Linked DNA regions of Homo sapiens: regions 2, 3 and 4 are each linked to region 1. Evidence: promoter capture Hi-C in 16 types of primary human blood cells and fetal thymus (Javierre and others, 2016). All regions are on one chromosome and are shown on one strand. Each heading gives the region's core, a stretch centred on a gene start or on the middle of the fragment in contact. The rest is flanking DNA. Distances are from core to core; before and after follow the strand shown.

The links. The method cuts DNA at HindIII sites, captures the fragments that hold promoters and counts their contacts. A CHiCAGO score of 5 or more calls a contact.
Region 2: a fragment that was not itself captured here is called in contact with the fragment with the promoter of COX7B2 in region 1 in 1 of 17 cell types (monocytes); the score reaches 5.1 in monocytes.
Region 3: a contact is called between a fragment that was not itself captured here and the fragment with the promoter of COX7B2 in region 1, in 1 of 17 cell types (M0 macrophages). The highest score is 5.2, in M0 macrophages.
Region 4: a fragment that was not itself captured here is called in contact with the fragment with the promoter of COX7B2 in region 1 in 1 of 17 cell types (M0 macrophages); the score reaches 5.0 in M0 macrophages.

What each region holds. Positions count from the first base shown.
Region 1 is chr4:46,907,800-46,914,427 of GRCh38, reverse strand. COX7B2 (cytochrome c oxidase subunit 7B2) reads left to right here and starts at 5,183. Exons shown (of 3, transcript NM_130902.3): 1 at 5,183-5,268. The HindIII fragment of the contact is 4,961 bases long and covers 1,049-6,009 here.
Region 2 is chr4:47,265,483-47,273,030 of GRCh38, reverse strand. The region is part of intron 4 of GABRB1 (gamma-aminobutyric acid type A receptor subunit beta1); the gene reads right to left. Among named protein-coding and RNA genes, the nearest start is that of COMMD8, 190 kb to the left of the region's middle. The HindIII fragment of the contact is 669 bases long and covers 1,070-1,738 here.
Region 3 is chr4:47,362,689-47,369,240 of GRCh38, reverse strand. All of the region lies in intron 5 of GABRB1 (gamma-aminobutyric acid type A receptor subunit beta1), which reads right to left. Among named protein-coding and RNA genes, the nearest start is that of COMMD8, 98 kb to the left of the region's middle. The HindIII fragment of the contact is 925 bases long and covers 3,993-4,917 here.
Region 4 is chr4:47,386,513-47,393,270 of GRCh38, reverse strand. All of the region lies in intron 5 of GABRB1 (gamma-aminobutyric acid type A receptor subunit beta1), which reads right to left. Among named protein-coding and RNA genes, the nearest start is that of COMMD8, 74 kb to the left of the region's middle. RefSeq lists a silencer at 1,721-1,780. The HindIII fragment of the contact is 4,382 bases long and covers 2,924-6,758 here.

The sequences.
Region 1 (6,628 bases), core at 3,934-6,433:
TTGGCAGTTGAAAAACTGTGAAATTTAGATGCCTTGGCCCTAGATCCTCTACATTGAAGTGTCAAAAATATGATTGAGAATGGGCGTGGTGGCTCACGCCTGTAATTCCAGCACTTTGGGAGGCTGAGGCGGGTGGATCACAAGGTCAGGAGTTCGAGACCAGCCTGACCAACATGGTGAAACCTCATCTCTACTAAAAATACAAAAATTAGTTGGGCGTGGTGGCACGCACCTGTAATCTCAGCTACTCAGGAGGCTGAGGCAGGAGAATCACTTGAACTTGGGAGGCAGAGGTTGCAGTGAGCCAGGATGGTGCCACTAGACTCCAGCCTGGGTGACAGAGCAAGACTCCATCTCAAAACAAACAAAAACATGTGATCGAATAATTTGCCTTATAGTTAGTACATAATTGTGGCCTATGAAAAATAACCCAAGCTATCATTTCCCTTCGACCTGTATTATTTGGTATATTTTTGTGTATGCTGCCACTAACTAATAGTCAAACACTAATCCAGATAAGATAATTTAGAGGAAGAACTATTTATTTTTCGATGAAATCCATAGAGGATACATATCTCTACATTTATAACACATGAAACAAGACTGTGAGAGAACTGGGTCATAGATGTTTTTCTAGGCAGGGTGTTAAAATTAGAGGTCATTCAGGTTCTAGTAAAAAGAATTACCAGAGTAGAGGGGCTTCTTTCTAAACCTTCACTAAAAATCACCGTACAATTTAATAAATCAAAGAGACTCTGACCTTTGGGACTGTACCACTGAAGCTGTATCCTTCCTGCTCATATTATGCCATTCCCTTAACTGTCCCTTTAATTAGTTGATTAACTCCAGATCTGAGAGTGGGCAGTAACTAAGCCATTAAGTGGCATTTTGAAACTAGGCAAATTTGAAATTAGTTTTTGAGGTTCAAATTTCACAAAGTTGGATGGTCTATGCAAATAAGCAGCTCATATAATCTAAATAGAGATGTCACTTCTGTCAAATAACTTGCAAACCATTAGTTTAAAAAACAAAAACTTTCCAGAAAGCTTGAAATAGAGCCTTTCATAAAGTCATGTGGTCAGGCTGCAGGGCTGTGCAGTCTGGTGTCACAGATAAAATACATTTTACAAGTGCTAGTATAGCTAAATTATTAGTTTAGATTTGAATTTTCTTGATCAAGACATTATTTTATGAATTTTTTTTCTAAATTCCATTGGTTGTTCTCTTTTTTATCTTATTGAAATCATAGAATTACAGTATGGTAGTCAAAGAATAACAGCACGATGATAAAAATTAAAAGGAAATTTATTTCCTTGGATTCCTTAAACATCATGAAGTGTACATATAACACAAATGAACACTTTTGAAAAACTCCTTTTATCTCTCATCTTTTTTCCCCAGATTCCACATTTACTTCCATATCCTTGCCCCCAAATGTCTCTATGCACGTTTTCCTGAGACCTATGCCGTACACCACTCATCTCCTTATCCTTCCTGTTTTCCTCCTGGCCCTCTAATTTCTCCTCATATTCCATTACAAAAAAAAAAAAAAAAAGCTAACCTGACAGTTGGCCAAATCTGCTTTAGAGAGTTCCAATCACTCCTCTCCCTCAAATTGGATTTATGAGGGGATCTAGACTGAGAACAAAGGTGGGATGGTTGGTGTTTTGGAGATAGATGAGACTTATGTGAAAAGAAGAGGTGAGCACATTGTGCCTCTTCTCACTTCTAAGATTAAGACCTGGGAAGGGGCAGGAGATGGGAAAGTAAACAAACTTTGTGTTTTGAGAGAAGTTAGGGAGAGAAGATCTTGCCATAGGAGACTTATATGTGTTCTTCATCTGGCAAGTTCTGAAGGCATCAGGCTCACAGAAACATACTTCTTTTACATCTTGACATCTTGTTCAACACGGTATTTATCCCAGATGTTTTACTTTTGTTGAAAAATTACTATTTATGTTTGCATTAAAATAAGTCAGTGTGGATTTGTTAGATCTTGACTTTTTACTTCTAGTTTCTGCAATCATCTCATTTTAAAAATGTGAAATGTGTGCAGTAAACAATATTATGCCTTTAACACATGGACAAACCTGACAGACAACTAGCAATAGCCTGTTTCTGTTTATCTGACCTTTCCAGACCAAACCTTACTCACCACTGATATAGTTTGGCTGTGTCCCCACCCAAATCTCATCTTTAATAATAGCTCCCATAATTCCCACGTGTTGTGGGAGGGACCCAGTGAGAGACGATTTAATCATGGGGGCAGTTTCCCCCATATTGTTCTTGTGGTAGTGAATAAGTCTCACGAAATCTGATGTTTTTATAAGGGCAACCCCTTTCACTTGGCTCTCATTCTCTTTTTGCTGGCTGCCATGTAAGACATCCCTTTGCTCTTCCTTCATCTTCTACCATGATTGTGACGCCTCCACAGCCATGTGGAACTGTGAGTCAATTAAACCTCTTTCCTTTATAAATCATCCTGTCTGGGGTATGTCTTTATCAGCAGCATGAAAATGGACTAATACAACCACCATTCTATTAAATACATCATTAAGGATACTTACTAATAAAGGATGGTGGTCTGGGACACTAGCAGCACAGGAAAGTTAGAAAAACTATATTGTAAATATATATTTTATTATTTCCTAAAACTTACTTTAATTTATGCAGTCAAATTAAAAATTGGAAAATTCATTCTTCAAAAGAGGAAAACATCAGCTGTTATTGGGAATGTGATTTTATATGCAGTTCAAGCAATTTTAAAAATAAATTATTACTGTAGAATATGAACTTGAATTGGGAAGAACACAAGGTCCTAGGAGAAAATAAATATTCATAGTAAATTGAGAAACCTATGGGATAATTATATTCTTGGAATGGGCTGTGTTATGCACACAATTAATTAATGCATCTAAACTGCAATTGAAATATAAGCTGTAATTGTTAAAATTCACAAATAGAGTTATATGTAATAATTAGATGATCAATTTTTTTTGTGATAAAACTGGAATTGAGTAAAACAAACAAAAAAGTAGACTTAAACATAATAGCACGTTTCGTTTCTTTGTTGCTTCCAAACAGGACTTTAAAAATATTTGATCCTTAAAAAAAAATCTTTGTAAATAAACTTAAATTATCTACAAAAATAGTAAACTTTTAATGACAGAAAAAATTTGTTGAATTGTGTTAAAATCATTTGAAAATTTTCAAAGAATTCAATTGTTTTGCCAATAAAATACGGGTTTTGAAAATGTAGCAGACTGTAGTTATTAAAAACAAAGCCCATGACACAGGAAAATATTTAAAATACTCATTCAAAACCAAGGGATAATATGAACAAATTTAATTGGATCTTAAATCTTATATAATATTTAACTTTCACATTCTATAATTGTGCTTTGGAATATTTTAAATTTATATAATTTTTTTCATGGGATTTCTACTATAAGTAGTATAAATTCACATTTTTAGAGACATAAAATTTAAAAGGCTTTCCAATTTGCAGGATCTAAATTTGTTAAACCTTCAAAAGAGGCCGGGCGCCGTGGCTCATGCCTGTAATCCCAGCACTTTGGGAGGCCGAGGTGGGCGGATCACGAGGTCAGGAGTTCGAGACCAGTCTGGCCAACATAGTGAAACCCTGTCTTTATTAAAAATACACAAAAAATTAGCTGGGTGTGGTGGTGTGCACCTGTAATCCCATCTACTCAGGAGGCTGAGGCAGGAGAATCGCGTGAACCCGGGAAGGCAGAGGTTGCAGTGAGCCAAGAGGGTGCCACTGCACTCCAGCCTGGGAGACAGAACAAGACTCCATCAAAAACAAAAAAACAAAAAAACCTCAAAAGAATATAAATAACAACAAAATTAATGAAATTTGTCTCATACAAATATGTGCTGAAGATAGGTTACCTTACAGGCCAGAAGAAGGTACTTGCGAAAATATTTGGACTGAAAAAATTACATATTTCAAAATGAAAAAAATAGAAAGGGTATTTTCTGTTTAGCAGAATTTCTATGAGCTTATTTTCTCAATTTAAAATACTATAATACATGGTGAACAGTTAAGTGAAGATGTCAACAATTTGACATATATCACCCATAAAGTACATGTTTTAGAAGAGTATAGGCGATTTAAAAAGTTGACAAGTAATAATACCATATTAAAATATATTCTTTAGAAAATATCAGTGACCCAGTCTTATAGACCAAAACACTAATTAAAATACATCAGCATACAGCAAGAATGATCATTTTATTATACATATATATATTTTGAGATGGAGTTTCACTCTTGTTGCCCAGCTGGAGTGCAACGGCTCGATCTCGGCTCACTGCAACCTCCGCCACTGTGATTCAAGCCATTGTCCTGCCTCAGCCTCCAGAAGTAGTTGGGATTACAGGCATCCGACCCCACGCCCAGCTAATTTTTGTATTTTTAGTAGAGACAGGGTTTCACCACGTTGGCCAGGCTGATCTCAAACTGCTGACCTCAGGTGATCCACCTGCCTTGGCCTCCCAAAGTGCCATTTTATTATGTTCATATTATCAATACAGACTTTACAAAAAGTTTTAGCTTTAATATGTAATTATATCATTTTAATTTTTAGAACTAATTTCCTTTCCAAAATGAATTTTGAATTGCACTTTATTGGCCCACCAATATAAAGTCTCAAAATCTCAAAAAATAAGAAAACGTATAATTTTAATTAATTACATTGCCCTCTTTCACTCTCAAGGGTCTCAGTTTGGGCAAAATATTATGTGGTCATCATAATTAGCATCCTAGTATGCTTAGGAGAGATCAGATGGGCTACACGGGATTTATGACTTGCTTTGGGTTACAGGCAATCTCAAACTTTCCTAATCACCAAGTGGGATAAAGAAGTAACACGGAGCCAGGGGGCTTGCCAAGAGATAGCTGCGACATGGAAGGAAAAGATCCCAACAGGTGTCACTAGGAATTATGTTGGTAGGTAGGAACACCCATCTCAATTCTTTTGTTTGATTCATTACAGAGGGACTTATATTAGAAGAACTCTCCTAATGGCTGTCTTTTTAGTTCCTCCCGTGGAGATAGCAATCATCTATCTGATTGGTCAGTTTGGAACGCGCAGTCCTTCATGTGACCGCCTCTTCCTTTCACCTAAGGCGGAAACTGCTCACAGGAAGTACCTGTTTTACCCGACCCCTCCAGGCTGTAAAACGGAAAGGTTCGGAATTTGCCTCTGCGCCGTCTTTTTTTGCCTGTTACCTGTGACGTCCTTGGTAAGTTTGTCTCATTCTGGGGTTCGTTGTCAGTAAGCTGACAGTTATAAGACATGGTCTTCATTCATTGCTCTAACAGTTATCAGGAAATATTTTGAAATTTTTTTTTTTTTTTGAGACGGAGTCTCACTCTGTCACCCCAGGCTGGAGTGCAGTGACGCCATCTCGGCTCACTGCAAGCTCCGCCTCCCGGGTTCACGCCATTCTCCTGCCTCAGCCTCCCGAGTAGCTGGGACTACAGGGGCCCGCCACCACGCCTGGCTAATTTTTTTTTGTATTTTTAGTAGAGACGGGGTTTCACCATGTTAGCCAGGATGGTCTCGATCTCCTGACCTCGTGATCCACCCGCCTCGGCCTCCCAAAGTGTTGGGATTACAGGCGTGAGCCACTGCGCCCGGCCAGATTTTTTTTTTTTTTTTTTGCCACTTTCCTTTTTTGTTTCATTTCTCCCAGAGGGAATGGAAAGACGTTATATTTTGGACCTTCCTCTCACTCTGACATCTAGGACATAGGATGGGAGTAAAAGGAAAATTAAAAGGAAAGGAATTGCATGTTGCAGAGCGATTTGTGTAGTTGTATCTTCTGGCATGGCTAAAGTGGGAAGTGTTGCACTCTGGCAGAACTGGTCTAGGTACCGATCATATATGTTCAGCTGTAGTGGCAATTTTGCCCACAGGAGAGTAGCTGTTTGTATATAAGCAGGTTTGCATACCTTGGGCTGTGAGCAAAAGCCAATAAGCTTTGAGGGACTCAGCAAACAAAATCTGACCAGGAGTGTTGAGGCATCCCTATTAAACGGGTGTTGGTCACGTGATTATTGCTGCTTGGCTTTGAAATCTGTAGAGGCAGTTTTTTCTAAGTAGCCTTGACTGAGAGAAGGGTATGATTATAGTCTTTTTGTGTACGAGCCTTACAGATCTCAAAGTGGTTCTAGGATGGCCAGTGGTATTTGCAGGAAATGTTTAGTGCCAGGCCTACATAGGGGGCATAGATAGTCTGCTCAAATTCTGGCTGGGTGCAGTGGCTGACACCTGTAATCCCAGCAGTTTGGGAGGCCGAGGCGGGAGGATCACGAGATCAAGAGATCGAGACCATCCTGGCCAACAGGGTGAAACGCATCTCTACTAAAAATACAAAAATTAGCCAGGCGTGGTCGCACGCGCCTGTAGTCCCAGCTACTAGGGAGGCTGAGCCGGGAGAATCGCTTGAACCCGGGAGGCGGAGGTTGCAGTGAGCTGAGATCGTCTCATTTCACTCCAGCCTGGAAACAGAGAGAGACTCCGTCTCAAAAAAAAAAAAAAAAAAAAAAAAGTCTGCTCAAATTCTGATCTTTTATATTGTTTTGACTCCTCTTCAGAGA
Region 2 (7,548 bases), core at 155-2,654, 360 kb before region 1:
ATGGATAATTAACTACTGAATAAACGAGAGTTCACTACAGTGAACTCATCATTACAGTAACGGTTCACATCATCTAGTCTGTGAATAATTGATTATGGTACTCCTGCCCTGCTTCTTGGCCCTGTTTATTGCTTATAAGCAGTCCCATAAAGTTAAACTCAGGTTTCGTCAGAAAGCAGGAATAAAATGTATACAGAGATATTCATTATAGCACTATTTATAACAGCAAAATCTGGAAACAACCTACTTGTTCAATAATAGATTAGTAGTTAAATAAATTTTGGCTTCTCTGGGTAAAGGAATATTTTGGATGTAGTGGGATAGTGTTTGTAAGGAAAACTTCATTATAATTACATGCTTAAAACATAAGAGACAGAGGAATACCTAAAGTATTTGACATCTAGGGTGAATTATTTTTAATTTTTTCCCTCCTTTCTATAGATCAAAATTATTTTCACTGATTAATTTCTGTAATTACCAGTTATAATTTTTAAAATTTATTTAGTTAATATAGAACCATAAAGTATAACAAATAATAATGTTAAAAAAGAAGCATGAATTATAGAATTCTTATCTTGAACTTTTTCATATGTAATCATGCCAGTAAAGAAAACGGAATAAAATAAAATGTAAAAATGAATAACACAGTACTAAGAATGAAAATAAACAAATTAGTATTTTTAGACTACATTTTTTTAAAGAAGGGGAGGGGAAGCCACAATACTTCCAAACATTGGATTCCCAGTGTTTCAGAGAATGATCTGCACATACAAAGACATAGTTGAAGTAACTCAACTTCTGTTTATCTTTACAACCATTATGTTGCCACTTTTTATTAAAATCTACTAGTTAAGTGCAGGAATATACAGCACAGGAGTTGAATACATGAACTGCATCCAAAGTGAGCTTGAATGATTCTAAATCCTATAGAACTAACTTTCCAAAAGAGAGGAACACGGGTAGTTAATTATGTGTGTCATGGACCATACATGGAGTCGTTTGGATTAATTCTCATGTACATAACAAAGTTATTAATGTGTAACTAATGAAAATGTGCTCATTTGAAGCTTAAATATATACTAGTAAAACTCACCCATGTCTTCATTAATTGTTTAGAACCTAGATCAACAAAAAGGATTTGAAGAAAAAGAATATTTTCTCCCTGATATTTAGGATCACTGGAACATTGTGAGACTATGAGGCAGGCTGAATTTTACTTGATTTTATTTATTAATCGTTGCTTTTAATTTCTCTATATGTTCCTTCCCCCTTATTGCTTGCATCTGAGGTGAACCACTTCCACTGTCCCACTCCTGAAACGTTACTGATGATATATCTCTGAAAGAAAGAAAATAATATAAAATTGTGTATAGGGTAAACTGGAAAGGAGCCTCTGAAGCTGCCTTCTGCACAAAGAAGGCTGAAATGGCCCAGTGAGATTTCTGGGGTTTATAGCATTTGTGATACCTGAAATAAGTGTGCCACCTGGGCCAGGACTGATTAAGCCAGGGAAAGAGATGCCCCATATTGGATGGTGGCCAACAGACAAATCAGTGCCTCTTTCTGGAGAAGTAGGAATGCCAAATGCGCAGATGAGGTAGGTTAATTACATTTGAGTATTCATTAAACTGTTGTTTTGGTTCTCATGATGTCAGTCTTGGAAACACTGCCACCCACATGATTATCTACTATATTTTGAGGTTTTATTTTAGGCAATAAACCTTTTATTATCCAAGCTTATCTCTGTGGCCAAACTTAAATAATGGTTTAGTTTATAAATATGAACAAATAAAATAGGGCTATACTATAAATACTAGCAGGGAATATATAAACATGTTAATAATGGGTAGGCTCTCAGGGCTGTGAGATAATAAATGCACTTTTCCCCTAACATTTTCCTGCATTTTCTATATTATTTATCATGAACGTGTGTTGATGACATGTCAGAAAAATATTATCAGAGATAACTTTATTTTATATTTTCAACTTGATTGCCTTTAAAAGGAGAGAAGAAACAACCTTTATAAATTCTTTGCATAGAAGTAAGTTCTTTGCTTTGGTAAAACTAGTACATTTTATACTAATAGCACAAACTAAAAGTGCTATAACCTGCTGAGACTAAATACAGTTTAACCTGGGCTGGTTATCTTAATTTGTGTTCGTATGCTATAGGATAAACAAACCATTTGAAGTTCTTCCAGGGAAGTAAGAGACCAAGATAATGGTCAGGTAGTTACCTTGGACAGCAAAGGTGAAGTTGGGTTAGTGCTTTTGACAATCTCTTGCCTATACTGAAAGGTTATTTTTGAAGACAAGAGTACCGAATGTTCCAAGCTCCCACTGTTGTCATGGAAACATTTCAGCTAGCTGAATAGGTTAGGAGGATTTTATGTTCCCCACTCTGACAAATACAAGAAGGCATGATCCTAGCTTTGCATTTCTAATCAGAAAACTTCAGTTTTCAATTCTTCTAGCACTTGATTAGTCAAATTTTCTTAATGTTTCCCTCCCCACTCCACAACAGAAAGCAACAGGCAATTCTCTTTTAAAAATTATTCCCACTTTAGAAGCAGAGCCAAAATTGTGACTGGGCTGACCTTGCTGTGCTTGGGAGTAATATTGCTTGCAGCTCTGAAAGGCTCCTGCAGGTTAATTTAGGCTCCTGCAGAAACTCTTCTGATTTGTACTCACTTTCAGTGGTTTCCTGGAGGTAAACTCACTTACTAATAGGCAGGAATTATTCCTCATTTTAGCAGCAACAGACTGCCAACAGTAGCTTATAATGCACAGGTAAGCTTTTGGAAAATGGCATCCTAAGGCTAAAACCAAAACAGCCATGTCATGTGCATACATTCAGAGCCAGCCAATCAGACTTTTTCCTATTATTTATCTGTAACAGCCCTCAACACTGTTTTGGAAGATAGAAATAGTCTAAGAATCCAAAGGCGAACTGGACAACTAACAACTGCATTGCAGGCAAAAGACTGACCAATTAGGTTGAGCTAGTTGAAGCTGGAATTTGTTGGACTTCTTTAAGAGTCATCAGACTCAGCCTGTGTGTGTGTGTGTGTGTGTGTGTGTGTGTGTGTGTGTGTAGGGAGAGTTGACAAGGACACCTTAGAGCATCAGGTTTGTTAAGTAGTGAATAATGTAAAAATTAAGTTTGATGTAACAATTAAGAATGTGGGCTCTTCTAGCTATGTGAATTTGAGGAGTTCCTCTTGCATCTCAGCTTCTTTATCAGTATAACGGAAATGCTTGTGGTGAGAATTAAAGAGTTAATACATGTACATAGTGTATCATCCCCGACACATAATACATGTTAAGTAGCTATATTTGGCATGACAAAGACACGGGGAAGAAAGAAAACAAAAGAGCATAAAAACATAGAATAGAGAAAAAGAATATAAGAGAAAAGGACCAGGAAAGAATGAGGTGCATCTGGCTATAAGGTAATCTCTTTTCTAGTTGCCTCAATTGTTGGATGTTGACAAAAACCTACCCCCTCCCCCACACCTCACACTAAACCCCACTGGAGCCATCTATCACTGGATGCAACTAAGTGAAATGATTTTACAGAATTAATTTGACTAATATAATGGTTCTCATTATTTAATTAGCTCCAATGAAATTCTGTTTTCTGTTTTGTTAAACGTCCCAATGTCTGTTCTGCACTAATGCAATGATGCTTGCCTAAGAAACCTTAAGTTAATAAAGAAGTGCATAATGAAAAGTGCTGTTTCAATGGGGCAGAAAGGGTTTGTGATTAGAGGGTTTCAGCCTTGCCATAGCAGAATTATATTTCTTCTGAGAATTAAATAGTGTATTTAAAATACATCTGTATATTCTTCTTGCAAGCTAAAAGTAACAAATTGACTGATGCAAATGAATAAAAAAGAAATCAACCTGAACATCATTAAGTAAATCTCAAACAGTGCTTAAATTCAGACCAAAATAAATGATTTTGGAGACCATCAAAATAAGTTGTAGCACATGTTTCAACTCCAACATTAAACTAAAACATGGTTGCCAAATGAGAAACCAAAAATGAAAATAAAACAGCTTGGGTTTTCATTTTGCATGAAACACAGTTTTCCTATACTCACAAAATGGATTTTTGTATAAATGCTTTGTTTTTGAAGAGTTTTGTATAATAATAAATGATAACATGTACAGTGCAAAGTGTATCCTCCCTTTAGTCAATCACATTATGTCCAATATGTTATAAAATTTGCCCAGTAGAAAAAAGTTCTACTTCAGCTAGCTGATAGTAATAAGCATTTTAATGCTATCAGTACATATTGCTTTGTATTTATTCTCTTGCTTTTTCCATGTGGCTTTTCTCATTGAAATTACACATTTCAAAAATCTTTTTATTCAAACTAAGCACTTTTAGTGGATACTTACAAATGAATGGATGCATTAATGACTAAGTAATGGGGATTATGATTTGGGGAGCTTAGCGAATAGTAAAATTAAATGATACTCTTACCTTCTACAAATGAATTATTATTTAAATCAAATTTCATTTTAATGATGTAATACATGCACATAGGAAAAAAACTAAAAGATTTTAAGGAAATAAAGCATCCCCTACCCTTCTCTTTTCCACTCCTTAGGCTTTCTGAAGGAAATCATTTGAACCATTTTAGCTTTTTCTTCTGACGTTTTATATTTTGAAACATTCTTCTTTTGCAATGTATCCTAACAGCCAATTTTCTGACATCAACAGGGTGTCTAACAATTCAATTAAATCCAGAGTGAGTTTACTATTTCATTTTGTTGTAGCACATTTTACAGCAACTTTGTAAGAAAGTATATAAATGGAGGTAAATTTTTTTTAGTTTTGAAGTATCAGGTCATATTTTTACTCTTATATTAATAGATGATTTATTACACATGGAATTTTTGGGTTGAGTCATTTTATCTCAGGATTTTGAAAGTGCTTCTTCACTTTCTGTAGATTCCAGTTCTGCTGATGACAAGTCAAGTGCCATTCTTTTCCCTCCTCTTTGAATATGATTTAAGTTTTCTTCCTGGAACCTCTCTGAAATTTTTTTATCTTCAGGAGGTGCTAATTTCATAGTGATGGGCCTTCAAGTGCATCTTTTTAATTTATTGATCTGGGAATTTTGGCGAGTCTTTCAACATGACAACTTACTTTTTTTTTCCAATCTATTAAAGTCATCTCCATTTATTTAACAATTTTCCTTTCTCTCTCTTTTTATTTTTTTTGAGATGGAATTTCACTCTTGTCACCCAGGCTGGAGTGCAATGGTGCAATCTCAGCTCACTGCAACCTCCGCCTCCCGGGTTCAAGCAATTCTCCTGCCTCAGCCTTCTGAGTAGCTGAGATTACAGCCGCCTGCCACCATGCCTGGCTAATTTTTATATTTTCAGTAGAGATGGGGTTTTGCATTGTTGGCCAGGCTTGTCTCGAACTCCTGACCGCAGGTGATCCGCCTGCCTCGGCCTCACAAGGTGCTGAGATTACAGGCGTGAGCCACCGCAACTGGCCTTCATTTTTTTTTTTCTTATTCTCTATGAAACTGTCATTTCGATGACTGAATCTTTAGTTGATATTTAAATTTTTTAGTTTTTTATCTTTCATTATTCATCTCTTTTCTTTTTTTCTACTTTCTATGAGGCTTGCTTGGTTTTTATTCCTACTCTTTCACTGATATTTTTTCCTTAAGAGCTATAATATTTTTAATTTCCAAGAACTCTTTTTTGTTGTTCTTTTAAAAACAACATACCATTTGTGTTTTATGTATAAAGTCTCATCTCTCTTTCTATGAAGGCACTTTTTAAAAATGCCTTTATTCTTGAAATAATTTTGTCTTGTTTGCTGTCTCTGTTTCTTTTAAATTCTATTTACCCCCTCTGTCTCTTAAGGAGAAAGATTTTTTTTCAAATTGCTAACACTCACTGTTTGCTGTTTGTTCATTTTAATAGTAAGGCATTTAAAAAGCAGGACAGGTATATTTAGAATTGTCGTATCTTCTTGTTGAATTGATCACTTTACCATTATATATTAATCTTCTTTGTTCTTTTTTACTGTTATCCACCAGAGCAACTAGATTCATAAAATAAACACTACTAGACCTGTGAAAAGAGATATACAGCAATACAGTAAGAGTGGGGGACTTCAACACTCCACAGAAAGCATTAAGCAGATCATCAAGACAGAAAATCAGCAAAGAAACACTGAACATAAACTGGACCCTCAACCAAATGGACCCAACAGACATTCACAGAATATTCTGTCCAGCAGTTGAAGAATATATATATTCTTCTTCTCTGTGCATGGAACATTCTCTAAATTAGATCATATATTAAGCCACAAAACAAGTTTCAATAAATTTCAACAAATTGAAATCATATTGAATATCTTTTCAGACCACAGTGAAATAAAGTAGAAATTAATTCCACGAGGAACTCTCAAAACTATACCAATATATGAAATTAAACAACCTGCTCCTGACCGATCTTTGGGTCAATGATGAAATTAAGACAGAAACTAAATTGTAATTAATTAATTGCAATTCCTTTCAAAATACCGATGCCATTTCTCACAGAATTAGAAAAAACAATCCTAAAATGTATATGGAACCAAAAAAAGAGCCCAAATGGCCAAAACAATCCTAAGCAAAAAGAACAAAGCTGGAGGCATCACATTACTTGACTTCAAAATATATTACTAGGCAACAGTAACCAAAACAACATGGTACTGCTATAAAATTATAGAACAGAATAGAGAACCCAGAAGTAATGCTACAGAGCTACAACCAACCAGTCTTTGATAAAGTGGACAAAAACAAACTGGGGAAAGGATACCCTATTTAATAAATGGTGCTAGGAAATTAGATAGTCATATGCAGAGAAATGAAACTGCTCTCATATCTCTCAGTATATACAAAAATAATTCAAGATAAATTCAAGGTTAAATGTAAGACCTGAAACTATAAAAATTGTAGAAGAAAATCTTGGAAATACACTTCTGGACATTGGCCTAAGTAAAGAATTCATAACTAAGACCTCAAAAGCAAATGCAACAAAAACAAAGTAGACAAATGTGACTTAAACTAAAAAGCTTCTGCACAGCAAAAGAAACAATCAACAGAGTGAACAGACAACATGTAAATTAGAGAGAATGTTTTGCAAACTATACATCTGGCAAAGAACTAATATCTAGAACTAGAAGAAATTCAAACAAGTCAACAACAACAACAAAAAACAAATGACCCCCGTAGGCAGTGAGCAAAGGACATGAGCAGACATTTCTCAAAAGAAGGCATATAAATGGCCAACAAGCATATGAAAAAATGCTCAACATCACTAATCCTCAGAGAAATGCAAATTAATTCCACAATGAGATACCATCTTACACCAGTCAGAACACCTATTATTAAAAAGTCAAAAATCATAGATGTTGGCAAGAATGTGGAGAAATGAGAGCACTTATATACTGTTGGTGGGCATATAAACTAGTACAACCTCTATGGAAAACAGCATGGAGATTTCTCAAAGAAATAAAAATAGAACTAC
Region 3 (6,552 bases), core at 3,206-5,705, 460 kb before region 1:
TATCCTCTGTCCACTAAGCTAAGTTCCTATATTTGTTGTTTGTTAGTATTGGGAACAAATTTAATATTTCTTAAGAGTTAGTCAATTTTGTTTTAATACAAAGAGCAACTTTAAAAAAAAATTTTTTTAAATTGAGACGGAGTCTCTCTCTGTTACCCAGGCTGGAGTGCAGTGATGTGATCTCGGCTCACTGCAACTTCTGCCTCCTGGGTTCACGCAATTCTCCTGCCTCAGCATGCCAAGTAGCTGGGATTACAGATGCCTGCCACCATGCTCAGCTAATTTTTGTATGTTTAGTAGAGACGGTGTTTCACCATGTTGGCCAGTCTGGTCTCAAACTCCTGACCTCAAGAGATCCACCTGCCTTGGTCTCCCAAAGTGTTGCGATTACAGGCATGAGCCACCATGCCTGGCCAAGAGCAACTTTTTATGAAAGTTTCAGTAGTGTATGACCACTAACATTATTTAAGTTTAAATAATGTTAGTGGTCATACACTGCTGAGACTATTAACATTCATAAAAACCTAGACTAAGGGTCTTAAGCAATGTGTGGTGAGAAAATCAGGTTAAAGTATGAGGGAAAAAACAACACTGGCTATCAGAATCCACGGTGCTGGGAGCTTGGGCCTGGCTCCCTGTAAGATTTCTGGGAATAATTAGAATTGTCCTAGAGCAAGATTTCTTAGTGTTATCACCATTAGATTTTGTACTAGATAATTATTTGCCCTGAGGAGCTATCCTGTGCATGGTATGATGTTGAGCAGTATCCCTGGCCTTTACCCACTCAATGCCAGTAGCACCTCCCCTCCCCTGTTATGACAACCACAAGTGCCTCCAGACATTGCCAAATGTCACCAGGTGGTGATGGGGAGGGATTGCTGCAGTTGAAAAACCACAGGCTTAAACTGATAGGCCTGAGCCCATGGGTGTTGGGGAGTAGATAATACCAACTAGGGACGTGGCCAGGAGACTGGAGGAAGTAGGCATGGTAGTTCTTGACACCCTTCAATTTGAGGATATTTATATGTTGACTCCTAGTTAGGCTGCATATACACATAAGCAGGGGTGGAGATTCCAATTATGGGAAATGCCTTTGGACATCTTCAAACAAGGGCTTCATGTCTCTGGATGGTAGTAGAGATATAATATTGGGCTTGGAGTTCCCACTCCCAGAGCTTTCTGCTGCCTATAACCATGGGTAGCAACATGATTCATCTTTAGGGTTCTAGTTATGGAAAGTCCGTTACTGTTGCGATAGATACTTAGGCAGATATTGGCTGCCCTCCACTTCCTTTTCCTTTGTTTCATGTGAGCTAGAATGTGGTTATAATCAGTCAGCCTTTACTGCAAGGACAAGGGCAACTTGTGGGGCATGGCACAGCCAAAACTGGCTGGGGTTTCTGTACATCCTTTTGGAGCAGAGCCATTTACTTACCTTGGCTCTGTTCTACAAGAGAAGAACAAGTGCTTCATTCCTGCTAGTGAATTGTGGGGTTTATTTGTTCTAGCAATCTGGTCTGTGTCCCACCTAATATACAGGGCAATGTGATAAGATGAACATTGAGGAGATAAAGGTTGGAGACTGGCAAGAAACTACAAAGAGCTGCCACACGGGACAGCAAAGGAGTTCTAGGGAAAGCAAAACATTTACTTGATTAGACTTTTCTGCATCTGTCATTTGTTGGTTCCTTTTGGGTAGAAGATCAATTACCAGCATTTTTCTTTTTGGGGTAGTCGAAGATCTCTACAAGCAGATAAGAGAAGTGCAGTGAAGTCATCTCTTTTCTGTCAGGTTGACTCCGTAGAGCCGCCTTTGGAGGATAGAATAAGCTTTGACTTTAGCCATAAATTACTTATTGAATTTCTATTTTCTGCCAATGGAGATGTGAGACTGACAGAGATACTAGACATGGTAGCTTTCTAAAGTTGCTTACAGTCTAAGCAGGGACTTCTAAGCTATTGGGAGACACATACCTTAAAATAGTATATGATAAATTAATCAGTAAGCAGTAAGATCTCTAGAGATAGTAGTGCTTGGAATGAGCTGTGAGTGGTGGATATAATAATGGTAATGCCTACTAATTATTTAGCACATGACATGTGCCAGCAGTGCTCAGATAAGCAGAGAGGAGGATAAAGGCCATTTCAGGCAGGTAATAGTGAGGTGTGGAAGGAGGGAAGTCAGAATGCATATGGTGGTAGCTATGTCCAGGTATGGCAGAAGCAACACCTTGTGTAGCTTTGGAATTGGGAGATGTCACACTACTTTGGTACCCTAGGTTATAATCCACTTACACAACCTAATATGCCACACATAATGTCACAAAATCTCAGAAAAAAATTTAATAGTCTAAAAAGTAGTATAAATTAAAATTTAATAGCACATGAAATCAGGTAAGTTGTGAAGCTTAAGTCACAGTTTTAATTCTTCCATGACAGTGAAAACCTTGCAACTTTTCATCATAATGGAAACTAAACTTGGAGGAAAATTACGAATGTCATCTCATGAAAAAGTCTACCTCTGCCACATGACATTATTCTTCAGTTACTGAAGAAGGCAAGAAGAAAATATGTTTCAAAAGGGGGGATAATGTTGAGATTTTTTTTTTTATTTTCCCATCTTATGCTATGCTCCTAATACAAGGTCTGTCTGTAGCAGTGGATAAAATAGGAGACTCAGTTTGGAGCCAGATTGTGGATCTCAAATGGTTGAATTTATCCTATGGACAATGAGTAGCAACTGAGGCTTTTAAAAACCAGTGGGTAGCATAATGAGAATGTCTTTACAGAGAAATGTATCTGGCTGCAGTGCTTAGAATAGGTAGGTGGAGAACAAAACTGGAGGAAGAGATGCTAGCTAAGAATTGTGTTTGGAATAATTCATGCTTATGTTGTAATTTGAGGGCCATTAGGAGACACTCTGCTACCTGAGTGAGAGACAATACATTTTCCGGCAGAGATTAGCTTATGGAGACTCACCTGCATGCACACTGAAGAGATCTGTGTCTTGGGAAAATGGTTCAATATACAGATAAATTTGGACAAGAAAGGAAGTCAGACACATTCCAGATGGCACAATAGCTTTATGAGACCTGGAATTGTTCAAAATGGGAACCTATGTTGAGTCTATGGGTAGTATGAGGGCACTGAATGTTGGGGTGAAGAATGCTAAAATTAAATTTGCCTATGACATACTTTTACCTACTGTGTCAATCAGGGTCCCAGCAGGAAACAGATGGCACACTCAATGTGAATAAATTGAGGAATTAATCAAAGGGCTATTTACAACTCTCAGGACTGGGCTAAGAGAAAGCAACAAGGTAAGAACTGGACAACAAAGCATCCTGAGGCAGGCAACAGCTAGGGAGCCAGTCACCACCACCTCTGGGCCTGAAGAGTCAAGGGAGAGAGCAGGTTAGCTGTGCTCAGAATCCAGAGGGTGTAGCTCAGGAGAAGGCCCTCAGGTAGGAGCCGTGGTCTTGGCAGAGGGATGGAGTCAATCCATGGCGATGAGCGAAATACAGGAATAAATACCTTGATCTCACTTTCCTCTTATCCTTTAATCTCCTGCCCATGCCTTTCATTGGTAAAATCAACCAGAAGACACGGAGTAAACAAGCCCATGACTGCAATCCAGATAGGTCACCCTCCCAGGACACAAAGCAGGCAGAGAAGGGAGGCAAGAGAAGGGGTATAGCGGGGGTGGAGCAAGGAAGACATCTGACATCAATCTTCCTGGTGTTGCTAATCGCTGGGTGGGAAGAAACAATCCTTACCCCAAATCCCTCTCCAATGGGCCTTCTTGTAAAATGAAAATTATCCTGAAAAAGGGTGAATTAAACTAACTCAAACTAAGTGGTAATTAACTAATAAATGAATGAGTGATAGATTAAAGGGCAGGAGGATATTGAAAGGACAAACAAACAAAAAAGTGAAACAGACTATCATTTGGAATTTTGCCTAGGGTTCACTGTATCTAAACTGCTGAAGCTTCTGTCTGTGTCTCTTAATTGTAGCAGTCATGCAAGCTGAGCTGAGGATTAGAGAGAAATTGTATTTTGTTTTCTATTCTTGGTCAGAGGGACCTCCATACAGGGACCGGAGAGGTGGAAGGATGTACAGGAACTGAGGATAGGTTTTCAGAGTGCAGTCAGCTAGGTGCTCACTGCTTTCCTCTCTTTGTCCTATTCCTTTTGTTTCCCTGTTATACCAAGAACATATTCTGTGGTGCAAATCAGCATCCTGATATTATTTTAGAATTTCTTGTTGCCATGGTGTATGTTGATTATTTAATTTTTTCCTTATTTCTATTTTAGTTTGTTCTGCTTCATTCTTTAGGGTTCTTATTTTTCCTTGTCTGTACTTTCTATCTCAAATTCTTTTTTTTCTATTCCATTTTAAGAAGGAAACAAATTTTAAGCAGTCTTTAAAAGAATTTTATGCGCATCTTCTAAGTATTGCTTTTAACTTGAATTTTCTTGTTTTAGCTTTTATCTTTCATTCCTTTAACTTTCATGTTTCCAGCTTTTTATCTCTCTGGTTCTAGCCCTTTATGTTTTTTATTTATGCTGGTTTTATCTTTAATCTTTCATCCTTCTTTCATGTTTAAATTTTTTTTAGTCTCACTGGTTTTAGTTTTTCTTTTCTTTTTTTTATTCTTTAAGTTTTATCTTTGTTGAACCTTCCATTTTCAGCCTGAAATTTTGCTTTATTTTCTTATCTTTTCCTTTTCTTTTTATTCTCAACTTTATTCTTTCATTTGCCTCAACTCCCTTCTCTGTCTTTATCATTTTAATAGCTTTTTTGCTCTTCCTCTTCTTGTTCTCCATCCCTTTCTTTTACTCCAACTTCTACTTTGTCTGATCTTTTTTTCTTTATTTTGTAATTTGCTTTTGTGCTACAAAAAGGCAAGAAGCTTGGCAACATGAAGAATACTCATAAAGTAAATTGGACAGTTTGGAGGCCTTTGTCCTTCCACTTTTTAATTATTCCCCTAATGGCCTCTCAGTTAACTGAGAGAGAATCTCCCCAAAATCCTCACTCTGGAAATCTCAAAAAATCCAAGGCAATGCCAGCCTCTTCTAGTGTCTTCTCTGTTGGTCTAAGTCCTAAATGTAAGGCTGCTGTTATATTGTGTCTCTGATGCATGCAGTTTTTATTGTGTGAATTTAGACCATTTCTATCTCCAGCGATCAGATAAATGTGTTATTGCATGAGAAGTAGATTAGTTTCTTTCCTCCCTTGATCTTAGAACTGTTGTTGAGATCTCCAGCTCATAAAAGAATATTCTCTGTCCTGATTAAGTGTTCTGGGAAGCTAGGGATGATTAACCTTAATATCTTCCTGACCCTGTCCAGGTGAACACTGTTTCTCTTTTATGATCTTCTGTTTATTCAGTACATCCCAGGGTGGTATTAATCACCTCTTATGCTCTAAGTACCATGACTGCCAGATGGTCTGATGGAGCTTAACTTGGAAACATTAAGAAAGGAGCAGGATTCCTTCCTTATTAGCCCTTTTGTTCCCAAGAGGAACTTATTAACCTAAATACAAAAGTATCCTCTAGTCTATTCATAGCAAACTTTACTTTAAAATGGACGAAACCTGTAATCCATTCTGTTTCTATTCTCTAATGGTAACCAGGGGACCAGATCATAGATTATTTTATAATAAGCCTCTTTCTGCTTACTGGTATTATAAATATGACCTGGGAGAGTGGTCATGTCTCCCTCTTTTTAACCCTGGGATAGCTGTTTCAGGATCCTGCAATCAGAGTGGGATGAGAAAACCCAAAAGTAAGAGAGACTGATTTTCGGGCCTGAGATGTGCCTTTTCCTCCCCCATAACCGACACATACAAAATTTGGCTAATCTCTAATTTTAAGTCATGGTCCATGGTATATGGTATGTAGCATGGTAGTCTAGAAGATGGGCTCTGAAGGAAGACTGGGTTAAAATTCCAACTCTGACACTCAGTAGTTTGTGTCACTATGGACAAGTTACTTCAACTCTATTTGCCTCAATTTCTTTATCTCTAAAGTGAGTATAATAAATTTGTTAAGGTGTAAAGTGCTTACCACTCTACCTGGCACATTGTAATCTCTCAATAAATGTAAACTAATAGTTTTTAAGACTCAATTCGGAAGTCTTCATCTCCATAAAATATTCCACAACTGAGCCCCTTGGACACACACACAAACACACACACACACACACACACACGCTTAGACACTCATTCTCATTTATCAGTCTGGTGCTTCAGGTACCTTTCTTCGTGTAGCATCTTGCACATATCTCTTCATGGCATGTTCACAGTGTACTAGCAGTATCTGTTTACACATATTCATTTCTTGTTATTTGATGAGCATCTTGAGGTTAGGAATTGTGTCTTATTCACCTTTGTATTCTCAAAATCTAACACAATAGCTGATATGCAGTGTGTGCTTAATAAATATTTAATTAAAAACAGTGATGAACAGTTGACGCCTGAGGACTTTTTAAGTATCTATGTCTTAGGTAACTTAAAAGATTGTTCCTTTTACTTCCTCAGCAA
Region 4 (6,758 bases), core at 3,865-6,364, 480 kb before region 1:
CACTGAAGTAGTAGATTCCAGGCTGAGCCACTAGCAATGACTCCCAGAACCACAGTGCAGATTGGCCTTTCAAAGGGACCGATTGCCACAATCAGAAAGCTGTTAATCAAGTAGCTACAGCAACCACATTGATTCCAGGATCACAGAAAGCTAAAACCAGAATTCTTGGTTCCAGAGCCATCCATGAGTTATGATCTGCACCAGCAAAACGGATGCTTCAAACACTACCTCTGACATGACTTGACTCCATCTAATCCAGAAAACTAAATTATAGCCACAACCTCAGTTTCAAGAGAATCTGGGAGATGTAGTTAGCTTTCTCAAAGGAGGTTAGCATACATACTAAACTAGCTAGATGGACTTCTGCTGTCTGCAACAGACACTGGATTGACATACCTTCTTTCTCTTCTAGGGAAGAACTATTTGCTCCAGCATTGTGATTACCAGAGCTTTTCATTAAAACCTCTGTTGTAACCCATGCCAGTCATTCACTTGATATTTCTATGCTGCATACTCCACTTTCTGTGCTCTACTCTGTACTGCTGGGGCTGGGCTTCCTGCCTCTCTGGCTTCATGTTAGATACTTCCCCTAGGAAGAGCTAGCTGAAGATTAGAAGGTGGAAGGGAGAGGCTGGGCACGGTGGCTCACGCCTGTAATCCCAACACTTTGGGAGGCCAAGGCGGGCAGATCTATGAGGTCAACAGATGAAGACCATCCTGGCCAACATGGTGAAACCCTGTCTCTACTAAAAATACAAAAATTAGCTGGGCGTGGTGGTGCACACCTGTAGTCCCAGCTACTCAGGAGGCTGAGGCAGGAGAATTGCTTAAACCTGGGAGGCAGAGGTTGCAGTGAGCCGAGATTGTGTCATTGCACTTCATTCAGCCTGGTGACTGAGCGAGACTCCATCTCAAAAAAAAAAAAAAAAAAAGGTGGAAGGGAGAAAGAAGCTTCCTGTTCCTGGCTCTTGCAGCATGGTAGTGCCTCAGTTTCTGGCGACTGCTGCCAGGGCAATTGAAGAAGTCACCTCTCTTTTGGCAATTCCATAAACAACTAGGACAGTGCCTCTCACAGGATCACATCAGATTCAAACTTGTGCTCTACTGCAAGCATGTTAGCAGCCTCTGACATCTGCCCGTTTAGCACTCTTCTCCTTCTCCTTTCTGCGTTTTTTTTTTTTAGCCCTTCCAATCTTTGTAACAAAGTCTCTATTAAATATTAAATTCCCTTTTTGAAAAATCTTGAGTGGTTTCTGCCTCCCAGATAGGATCCTGTCAGTTACGTAGTACTGAACATACCATGCAGAATATTTCAACTGTTTCTATAGCTTTGTGTTTATCTCTACCCTTTGTCTTCTCTATTCCTCATTATATTATAAGCTCTTTGAAGAAAAGGGCCTTCTTTCATTCATTTAAAAAATTCCCGATGCCTAGAACAGATTCTGTCTATAGTAAAGTTTCAATACATATTTTTGAATAAATAAGTTAATATTGTTTGCTGCTTAGAGTTTTGAGTTTATGGTCCCAAACTGGTAATCTGATAGAGGGACCTATTTGGTATATTCTTGAGCCTAATTTACTCCCTGATGAAGGACACCTTCACAGAGGCCTTACAGGTAAGTCTGGGCACCAAGGAAATGCAAAAATCTGTGTATTAATTTTAGGCTTACTGAGTTAACTAAGTGACAGAAGTGATGGACTACAACCTCAAGCTGGTCTTTGAATTATAAGATCCTAGGTGAGAAACATATAAGCACCAGTTAGCTGAGAGTCAGTGATGGTTTGCCGCTTGCAGTTGAGGTGGGGAGAAGGGTGAGTCAAAACAGCACCTCACATTATCTCCCGCTTCTGAAGAGCAGCAGAGCATGTCAATACTACACAAAATAAAAAAGCTGGACTATGACTACTGATCAATAGAGATTTTAATAATATTCAACAATTTATCCAGTCAGTGGTCTGGGTCTTTATTTCCAAGCTCACACGCACTTTGTTTAACTAAAACCCATTAGGCTTAGTGTTCAAGGCAGAGGTAATTACAGATGATTTGGGGAAAAAAAGAAGGCTTACTCCTTTTCTTTCTTTTGTTTTTTTCTTTGAGACGGAGTCTTGCTCTTTTGCCCAGGCTGGAGTGCAGTGGGGTGATCCTGGCTCACTGCAATCTCCACCTCCCATGTTCAAGCAATTCTCCTGCCTCAGCCTCCTGAGTAGCTGGGATTACAGGCACGTGCCACCACACCCTGCTAATTTTTGTATTCTTAGTGGAGACAGGGTTTCACCATGTTGGCCAGGCTGGTCTCTAACTCTTGACCTCATGACCCGTCCCCCTCGGCCTCCCAAAGTGCTGTCATTAGAGGCATGACCCACCGTGCCCGGCCAGCTTACTCCTCTCCAAGTAGAAGCTTGAGTTTTCATGGGAGCAATAATGGCAGTTAGATCCAAAGGAAAGAATACTGGCTTTGAAATACACTATTATTTCAAAGGTTACACAAGAACATTTTGCCACAGAGTGAGAACATCAATTTACTCACACCTAAACAACCTATTTTACCAAAGGTTTTCTTTTATGAACCAGTGACTTCACACAGTATCTCAGAGCTGAACACTTGGATACCAAGGATGTTGTTTCCTAGCAACAATAACTATACAGGAACTCTTGAAATTTCCTTTCAGCCCCTGGGGATTTCTTAGTGGTGAAGAAAGTACAGATAAAATTAAGTTGATGTCAATGGATAAAGATGCATGGAGTTAGTACAATTGTAGAAGTATCTGGGATGTTAGTATTCTTTTGGTACTTGAAACACTCTATTTTGGATGCATTTTCTAATTTGAAAATAAAAATTACTCCCCACTGTGCTTAATAGAGCTAGGGGGATGGTCTAGTCTTGTACGTAAATGTGTTTCAGATAATGCAGACATTTAAGCTTCTAATCCATGGGTGGGCAGAAATAAGTTTATGTCCTGTTGTGGAGCAGTTGTAACCCAATCTCAAATTTCATGGTGTGGATCTTGATTGGCTTAGGCCAATCATTAAAATATGGTGAATGGCTCAGGGTTAGGCAACAATCCAGGTCTAAAACAATTATCTCATAGCAGTCCCCTGGCCAAATTAGTTGCTTGGCAATAGGCATGTGATCCAAGTTGATCCAGTCCCAAAGAAACCTAGAACTTTTCTTCAATAGTCGGAGGAAAGGTAAATTTCTTTTTCTCTTTTAGCTGTTTGCAAACATGAATGTTGAGTGGAGAGTACCTGGTCCTTACAGGAGCCAGTATGTTTCCTTCCTGTTTACATCAGTTGCACCTAATTAAAGTATCCTAAATGACACTCAAAATCAGCATTTCAACTATTGTTAGAAAATAACCTACTGAAATAAGCATAGTGGTCTACCACTCCCTAATTCCTCTTACTCTTCCCACATGAGAGGAGACATATTAGGAATTTATCAAGAGCTCTGCTGTTGTAGCAATGTAGATTGCTTTACACTACAGAGTTATTGGATATTTGGAATTGTGCATCTTAGCTTCAGATAAGAGAGTCAACTGGGTTTAATTTTTCCAGTGGCTCCAGATGTGCATAACAATTATTCAAAAGGCTACTTTGGGTTCCTTTCTCATGGAACTTTGTATCTCCATGACACCCCAAGAAGCAGCAAATAAACTATGGAAGCCAGATTTTTAAAACATTCTCACAGTTAAAGGCAAAATGCAACAACCCATTTAATGTTTGATTCCTGATAACCCACTGTTTGAATGGTCATCCACTGCTTACAGATAGCCATATTACTACTTTCTGAGTCTGCTCGGTAGTTAATTAGGTTTTTAGATAATTGTGAGAGAACATTTTCAACGGTCCATTTTCAAGGCATGATAAATCTAAGCACTGGCAGCCCGCTTGCAAATGAAACAAACCTTACAGCTCATGCACCTAGAAGGTCACAATAAGAGAACAGAATGCAGAGGAAGGGTCAGCCCATAAAAGGGAAGACAGTTTTGTTATTGAGAAATCAAATCTTAAGCAGGGAAGGGGATGGGGATAACCTTATAAGGGGATAATGAAACTTAGGTGATGTCCAGGAAAATTGTAACCCCACAGTACTCAACCAATGAGGAACTGGGGGAGGAACTTTGTGTAAGAGATAAATTACTTGATGTGACTTCCCCAAGTGTGCCTGCCCACCAAACACCCAATCTTGCAAAGCCATTATTAAAAAGTCTCACTTTCACTGTTCTTCATACCTCTAAGTCCATTCTTTGGGTTTGGATGGGTGAGTGTGTTTCTGATAATAATCATTAGAAAACATGTTCTATCATAAGTAAAAATTCATCTTCTTGGAGAGTATCCACCATGACATCCTTGCCCACCTCTGTGTTAACAGAAAACAAACCCAATCCTTTTTTTCTTTTTTTAACATAATAACACCTCCCATCTTTGAGAACACTTTTCATGCTCCCTTTCTTTTATTCTCCAGGCTCTGGTCCTTCCCAGGGTATGCTCAGTCTTAGGAACTTTTTTCTGCTCACAGTTTCCAGTTTGCTTACATGTCCCATGAAGTATGCAGCCCTAAACTTAGGGGTAGTCATGTCTACCTTGTTTCTTTTACCACTTTTTGGGTTATCTGTCTTCTTTCTCTATTGCACAGACCTGTCCCCAAGGTTAATTCTGCCCTTGTTATGGAGCCACTCTTGATTGACATAAGAATTAAGCAGCAGCAGATTTGGACGTATCCCCAGATTTGCGATCATAGAATCCAACCATGTTTTCTGATTTCTTTAGCATCCTCTGGAAAGCCCCATTACTTCCAACCAGATCTAGGACCTAACACACCTAAAGCAAGGTCAGGATACTCAGGCTTCTCCCTACTCCATTTCGACCCTGGCATTTTCTATGTTTGGACAATATGTAAATTCCCAGAGTGACTTTTCTAGAGCCCGGTTTCTTCATATCTGACTGTTTACACTGCCTAGTCTATTAATCCTTGTCTACACTAGACCATACCCATTTAAAGGCATTTAGACTCCAGGCATTATATCAAATACATTAAAATGTATTCACATTCCATGTTAAACATAATTTACATATCACTATAAAACATTTAATTGCAGCTTATTTGTTAACATGTTATACTAATTTTAATATTGTAATATTCTTTATGTATTTTGGAGCCAATAATCCGTTTAAGACCCTTGATTAATTTGTAGATGTAGACACTTTGCCTATAATGCGTGTTGGCTATATGGCTGAACCTTTGACACCAATGGGACTCTAGTGCAACGGCCAAGATCTCCTTCCGAGCTTTATTTATTTGGAATATGTCCAACTCCTCTTAAATTTCCCACTGATAGAAATTCTGCTGCCACCATTAGATCTCCTGACCCTGATTGTGGCCCTTCCTGACTTTTAAATTGGCTGTCTACCTGTAATTTCTCAAGATGAAATTGCCTGCCAGGTTGAACTGCATGTGATAGGCATCCATCTGGGCTATTCAGCTGGGGTTAAGCCTCTATACAACCCTGTTCTGACCTCCTCTACCATTTTTCTGGTCCCATGTGGATGAGATCCCCCCATGCCTGCCCAAGTCATGACATTCTTGGAGTGACTGGCTAGCAAAGTCTAGTCACTGGTCTTCCATTAAAGCAGCACAAGTTCAAATTCGCTTTTTCCACAATCAAATGGTTTTTACTTTCTTTTGGACTCACACATAAGAACTAATATTGTTCCCATTTAATTGTATCGAGCCAGTTTGATAATTTTATCTAATTCAATTTGACTTACTATTTTAGCCTATTGAGTTTTTGCTTTTTGAGATGGAGTCTCACTCTGTGGCCCAGGCTGGAGTGCAGTGGCACAATCTTGGCTTATTGCAACCTCTACCTCCCAGGTTCAAGTGATTCTCCTGCCTCAGCCTCCAGAGTAGCTGGGATTACAAGTGCATAACACCATAAAAAAAATTAGGCCATCTAATTTTTATATTTTTAGCAGAGATGGGGTTTCTTCATGTTGACCAGGCTGGTCTTGAATTCTGACCTCAGGTGATCCACCCGTCTTGGCCTCCCAAAGTGGGATTACAGTCATGAGTCACTGTGCCTGGGCTATTTTTGTTTCTGGATGCTGATTTGCTCAACCTCTTAGTTTCATGTTATCTGCAAATTTGAAAAACATGCCTTTTATCATTATTCCCTTGATTGAGACAAATGTGGACTGGCAGAGACAAAGACAGAGCCCTGTAAGATTTCCCTGGTAATATTCCTGTAGGATGAATCAGGTCTTTAATCAGCACTTTGTGGGGTGACACCATCATTTATCCATTTAATATTTTCCTAATTGTTTAGCCTTTCGTCTATATCTCTATGTTTCTCATATTTTTCTTGATTGATTTTGCAGCCTATCAGATAAGAAAGTAAGGTCTGTTAGACTTATTTTTAGAAACATCAAGCTGCTTCCATAGATTACTGATTCTCCTTTTACAGAATGTGGGGTTACTATATTGCCCAGAATGCTTCAATTTCATCAGCTTAAGTGTCTGTTGAATTTTTTTTTCCTTCCTTCTTGGACAATGGAATGATGTATTTCATTCTATAAACACAAATAGCCATGTGGTGTACTAATGTCTGTAGGCTCATGATAATATCCTCCCACTCACAAGGTCTGCTTTCCTTTATACATGCTAATGGAGCTATATTGCATTAATTTATGTAGGTACATATGTTTTAGGTACATTGCTAGCCAAAGATCACAGTGACGGTTACTCAATGGCCCCAAT